2 separate regions of the Homo sapiens genome follow, and region 1 is linked to region 2. Evidence: promoter capture Hi-C in human tissues and cell types (Jung and others, 2019). All regions are on one chromosome and are shown on one strand. The core of a region is centred on a gene start or on the middle of the fragment in contact, and the rest is flanking DNA. Distances in the headings are between cores, read along the strand shown.

What was found. The method cuts DNA at HindIII sites, captures the fragments that hold promoters and counts their contacts. A contact is called where the count stands out against the background at its distance.
Region 1: a contact is called between a fragment that was not itself captured here and the fragment with the promoter of IFNGR2 in region 2, in 1 of the 25 tissues and cell types used here (spleen).

The regions. Positions count from the first base shown.
Region 1 is chr21:33,338,298-33,341,586 of GRCh38, reverse strand. IFNAR1 (interferon alpha and beta receptor subunit 1) reads right to left here. Exons shown (of 11, transcript NM_000629.3): 3 at 413-588. Among named protein-coding and RNA genes, the nearest start is that of IFNAR1, 15 kb to the right of the region's middle. The HindIII fragment of the contact is 9,296 bases long and covers 1-3,289 here.
Region 2 is chr21:33,401,622-33,404,662 of GRCh38, reverse strand. It overlaps IFNGR2 (interferon gamma receptor 2), which reads right to left and starts at 1,250. Exons shown (of 7, transcript NM_005534.4): 1 at 1,047-1,250. The coding sequence starts at 1,119. RefSeq lists cis regulatory regions at 151-651, 1-680, 1,248, 1,525, 1,535 and 2 more, silencers at 682-731, 872-921, 942-1,021, 1,032-1,571 and promoters at 1,126-1,530, 1,125-2,292, 1,664-2,302, 1,146-2,302. The HindIII fragment of the contact is 6,342 bases long and covers 1-3,041 here.

The sequences.
Region 1 (3,289 bases), core at 2-2,501, 63 kb after region 2:
CTTTTGAATGTTTGGATTAATAAAGAAGGCAGATGAATTTCACATTGAATTCTATGTTAAATCAGTGACCATATCACCACATCACACATCAAACAGCCTCCTCTGGAAAACTCCACTGTGAATACAAGAAAGAACAAAAATTAAAAAGGCAACTAAGTCTTAGATTTGTCATAAATATAGCTTTGTCTTTACAGCCCCCTGAAAGGGCCTTGAGGATCACTCTTTGAGAACCACTACTACAGGGAAAGTAGGACAAATGGAGCCATAGCAGGAAGAAGATATAGGTTTAAGGGAATTTTTGTTCTTTTTAAAAGATGTTAGATTTTGCATCATGCAAATGAATGGCTTGGAAAGTGAACTGCTCTGGTAATATTTACTAAAGAATATAATTCAGCTAGCAACTTTTTCTTACCTTTGCGAAATGGTGTAAATGAGTCAACCTCATACCATGAAGAAGTGTTTTCTTTTTCTGCTCTTATACGCAATTTAATTTCTTCATAAACATTCAGCTTGAGTGAAGAAAAGTTGCATTTGGTACTAGTAATATTCTGACACCCAGACAATTTTATCCAATTATCCATCCCAGTTCTTTAAAGTAAAAAAAACAAATGAATGAGTGAGCAAATGTATAAATGTAAGTGTCAAATACTTTCTATTTACTGGTATAAGAGTTATTTCTTAACTCTTAATAACTCTTGTTTAAGAGTTATTTCTATTTTTGGTTTAAGAGTTATTTCTTCTACTTGAGCTAATGTCCTATTAACATTTTAGCATACACCCTTCCACTCTTTTTCAATGCATATAAGCCAAGTTATTACTTATGAAACTGAATTTTAAAATACAGTTCTTTATATAATTTTGTGGGTGGTTGCTTCAGGAAGCAGAGAAATAAATGACCCATAAGGTAAAAGTGGATTTAGTATGTTGGCTCTGTTAAAAATAGCTGTGTGACTTTTGGTAAACTATTTTGTGTTTCTGGATCTTATCTTCCTTATTGAAAGTTTGGAGCCTGGTCAACATAGCAAACCCTGTCTCTATGAGAAATAAAAAAAAAAAAAGGCAAAGCAGGGCATGGTGGCACATGCCCACAGTCCTAGCTACTGGGTAGGCTGAGGTGAGAGGGTCATTTGAGCATAGGGGTTCAAGGCTGCAGGCTGCAGTAGGCTATGATCATATCACTGCACTCCAGCCTCAGCAACCGAGCAAGACCCTGTCTCTAATAAAATAAAATTAAATAGAAACTGGGGAATTGGATTTGATGATTCCCTTCTGACCTCCTCCTATGAATAGACTTACCTTCCCTAAGAAAGACCTCAGAATCAGTATGGTTTCAAGGTTTCCTCTGCCCTCTCCAAAAGCAAACCATCCCTTCTGCTTGCCTGTCTCCGTAATTTCTTCTATTACATCATCAGAAACCACAAAACTGAAAATGTTTACATAAACAAATAAATTTTTGGAAGTGGAACTGGCCAATCAGAAAGCTGAAGTGATATTAGATTCTTCCTTTCAAAAAAGGGGCAAACATGAAAAATAAAGTGGGCATGGAGTGCCTAAAGCAGAAAAGGACATGTTGCCCAGAAAGGGGAAGAAGAGCTTGCAGGGAAAGTGAGGGATAGAAACGAACTTAGCAGATTTCTTTTTTTTTTTTTTTTTTTTTTTGAGACAGAGTCTTACTCTGTTGCCCAGGCTGGAGTGCAGTGGTGCAATCTCGGCCCACTGCAACCTCCACTTCCTAGGTTCAAGCAATTCTCCTGCCTCAGCCTCTCAACTAGCTGTGATTACAGGCGTGTGCCACCACGTCTGGCTAATTTTTGTATTTTTTTTTTTAGTAGAGATGGGGTTTTGCCATGTTGGCTAGACTGATCTTAAACTCCTCACCTCAGGTGATCTGCCCACCTCAGCCTCCCAAAGTGCTGGGATTACAGGCGTGAGCCACCATGCCCGGCCAATTTAGCAGATTTGAGAACTTTTACCTATGTTAAGCCCATTGACCATAAGTAGCAGAGAAACTATCTTCTGGGAAGGCATTTTTGTCAAGCCTAATTCATTAGCTGATTTATTTATTTTTAATAATATCACAGATGCCATTTTAAAGACGATTTAGATATTAGAAACCAGAGATAATACCAAAATAATTTTGTTGCTGAACCAAATACAAGTCTACCTTGTTTTTCAAAATGGAAACATTTTTAAGAAATTACCAAAAATATACACTAGCATATGAAATACTTCATTCTTGGCCAGTTTTCACTTCCACTTTTACATATCTGAGGCCTGAGATTAGAGCTGGCATTAAAAATACCTTAAACATTCTTGAAAAGGTTCCACATCAGAATCTATTTCTAAAAATCCAGAAACTCTCATTATAAACAGAAAACCTTATCAAAAATTTAAAACTTAATATAATTTCAACCCAACCTCACTGTTTACATCTGTCTTTCCTACTTCAGGAGATGCTGAAGCATGCTCCATTAAAACTGTTTTACATCTAATCAAGATATTGCAGCAGAAGCTACTTTTATATTTTCTTAAAAAAATCATTATTGGCCGGGCTCGGTGGCTCACACCTGTAATCCCAGCACTTTGGGAGGCCGAGGGGGGTGGATCACTTGAGATCAGGAGTTCGAGATCAGCCCGATCAACATGGAGAAATCCTGTCTCTACTAAAAATACAAAATTAGCCGGGCGTGGGGGTGCATGCCTGTAATCCCAGGCACTCGGGAGGCTGAGACAGGAGAATTGCTTGAACCCGGGAGGCGGAGGTTGCGGTGAGCCGAGATTGCGCCATTGCACTCCAGCCTGGGCAACAGAGCAAGACTCCGTCTCAAAAAAAAAAAACCAACAACAAAAAAACTATTATCATATGCAATAATTAGCTCAGAACAGAATATGAAATATGAATATGTAACTAATGTAATATTTACTTCATGAAATCCGTTTCATAATATAACTTCATGCCATCTTTGCCTCTCCTGTTCACTGAGGCAGTCTAAGCAGTCAGAAGAGTGTTTGGCATGAAATATATTCAATATTTGTTGGGTTTTTTTTTTTTTTTGAGATGAAGTCTTGCTGTCACCCAGGCTGGAGTGCAGGGGCACGATTTCAGCTCACTGCAACCTGTGCCTCCTGGGTTCAAGCGATTCTCCTGCCTCAGCCTCCCAAGTAGGTGGGATTACAGCACGCACCACCACATCCGGCTGAAGTTTTTGTATTTTTAGTAGAGATGGGGTTTCACCATGTTGGTCAGGCTGGTCTCGAACTCCTGACTTCAGGTGATCCACCTGCCTTG
Region 2 (3,041 bases), core at 1-2,500:
GAGCTCAGGAGTACAAGAACAGCCTGGGCAACACAGTGAGACCTCCTCTCTACAAAAAATACAAAAATTGGCCAGGCGTGGCCAATAATACCACCTTCTTGGGAGGCTGACGTGGGAGGATCGCTTGAGCACGGGAGGCGGAGGCTGCAGTAGCTGAGATGCTGCCCACTGCACTCCAGCCTGGGCGACAGAGCGACACCCTGTCTCAAACAACAATAAAATAAATAAATGCCTGGCTCAGTTGACACTCTTCCTCTTCCGCCCCAACACTGATGGGACCCGGACAGTTCTGAGCCCTGCCTGAATGCTGCTGCCCCATCTCTATGACCGCGGGAACTGTCTAGATTTCACACCCAGTGTCAAACATGCCCTCGGCCAAAGTCGGAATTGAGTCTGGGTCACCCGTCCAAGACGCTGGTCCCTGCTCCACCGCTGCTACTACAAAGGGACTGAGTCTAGCTTCCAGCCAGGCCTTCGGGAGGCACTCCAGGCGGGGACTAAGCGCAGTCTCGCCAGGCTGCAGAACCAGTGGCCAGCAAAGGCGGCCCCCGCCGGAGCCCTGGATTCAATTTGCTGTTGTTCATTCCGAGAAATTCGGAGACTGGGGCCACGCTGGCTTTCCCGGCGCGGGCGCGCGGGTGGGGGAGGTGGCGCAGCCGAGGTTACCGGCTTCACGGAGGGGCACCGAGTGTCCTCTCCCGGAGAGGGGTGTCCCGGCGGCCAGGACGCCAGGAGGGGTGCCCCCCGTCTTCCTGCTGCTGCCCAGCTCCTGTCTGGAACTCCTGGCCGCCCATCCCAGCCCCGCTGCGGGCTCCCAGCGGGCCCCTCTAGCCCTGGGCACCCCGCAAGACCCCCACCTGGGGCACCCGCAGGTTCCCACCTGATCTGAGCACTCCGCATATCCCACCCACCAGGAGCACCCCGCAGATTCCCACCCACTCTGAGCACCCGGCAGATTCCCCCCACCCCACGATCCGGGAGTCCCCCAGCCCCCACATGCTGCGGCTGCGCCCGCGTCCCGCCGCGGAGGCCCAGGCCCGGCTCACCTGGCGGGGCCGCGGCGGCGGCGGCGAAGACTCCGAGCAGCAGCAGCAGCGACCACAGCAGCGTCGGTCGCATGGCCCCGGGCGCTCGGCGGCGGCTCAGGTCGCGGCCGGGGCCCCGCTCGGGGTCCGCGGAGCCGCTCACGTCGCCGCCCAAACCGCCATGGCGAGCGCAGGGCGCGCAGGGCCCGCCTCTTCCCGAGCAGCAGCGGGGCGTCCCGGTGGAGGGGATTCGGCTCGGCCGCCCGCGCCCCCGCCCCCGCCCCGTCCCGCCCCCGAGGCCACCGCCCCCGCGCGGGACTTTCCCGCTCCGGGAACCGCGGCCCTGGGGGGCCTCTGCGGCTGCAGCGCGGGGACCCCACGCAGCCGGCCTCCCAGAGCGCGGAGCCTCCCGGAACGTCCTGGAGACTGGAGCCCCGCGGGACGCCCACCTTCGGGGGCCGCGATCCTTCCGGAAGGGCCCCGCGAGACCCCGGCCCAGACCCCCGGGCTTTCCCTGGAGCCCCCACCCCTCCTGACCCCCCCCAACTCTCCTCTCGGGTGCTTGATCGCACAATTCGAGGATTCGCCCCTTTAGTCGAAATGTTTGCTTTAATAGCCCCCAAAGTACATATTAAGCTTTCAACTCTCCCCCGCCCCCCTCCCCTTTTTTTTGAGACGGAGTCACCAGGCTGGAGTGCAGTGGGGCGATCTCGGCTCACTGCAACCTCCGCCTCCAGTCAACCCCATTTTGAAAAGGGTTTTAAGGGGAAGGAGTTAGAAAGGGCCCAGTGAAGGAGGAGGTGGGGCTCTGGGGGTGGGGGGAATGGCCTCCGAGCAGGGGGAGGGAGAGACAGAAACTTCCAGCATTTCTAAATGGCGTGGGGTTTGCCCTGGAGCCGGCGGCGGTGCACGAGTAGGAAGTCCTTTAGCAGCTGGGCAGCCGCAGGCCCGCTCCCCAGCCCGAGCCTGCACCATGTCGTTTGACGCCTGTTGGGAGAGGGTTTTAAATCTGCCCTGTTCTTCCAAGATGCGTCATAAAGCTAGCGCAGCAAAGGAGGGACGCGGTGCAGGGAGACCAAGAATTTAAAAACAGGTCGTCCCGGGAGCCCACTGGACACGTTAGCAAAAATGGGTTTTGCAACATAGAGCTTTTCTTTTGCTCTTCCCACATTCTTGCATTTCCTCTTTGTAGAACTATTTTGAAATTGGCCACGCTCGTGAAAATACGTGATGAAATACCTCGCAGACAATTGAATTATGCATTGGATATTTCTAGATACAGAGATGTATTTATATGTTACACGAAAAAAGCGGGCGATAACTTGGAATCACTTCAAAAAGTATGCACTGATGCCAGGCGCGGTGGCTCACGCCTGTAATCTCAGCACTTTAGGAGGCCGAGGTGGGCGGATCACATGAGGCCAGGAGTTGGAGACCAGCCTGGCCAATATGGCTGAAACCCGTCTCTACTAAAAATACAAAAATTAGTCAGGCGTGGTGGCCGGCGCCTGTAATCCCAGCTACTTGGAGGGCTAAGACAGGAGAATCACTTGAACCCGGGAGGCGGAGGTTGTAGTGAGCGGAGATTGCGCCACTGCACCCCGGCCTGGGTGACAGACCGAGACTCCGTCTCAAAAAAAAAAAAAAAAAAAAAAAAAAAAAAAAAAAAAAAAGGCACTGAAAATGACAGGATTGCAAGAAGGATTCTGTTTTCAAACAAATAAATAAAATTACAAGAAAACGACTGGGTGAAAGATGCCAACATTCTAACAAGAAATCGGTTACAGGATCACACAAGTGTCATCCGCCTCAGGGGATGTAACCGAATGCTGGTTCAGTCGCTGGCTGCTTGCAGAGTCTAACAAGAGCAAGATGTGGTGGAAAGAAAGTGACTTTATTTCCAAAGCTAGCAAGGGGAAGTGGTTGGATTCCTATCCCCAAAGCAATCACGTTGAATTGTGGGGTATGGGGAGTGGGAAAGGCAAGGGTTATTTATTTTATTTATTTATTTATTTA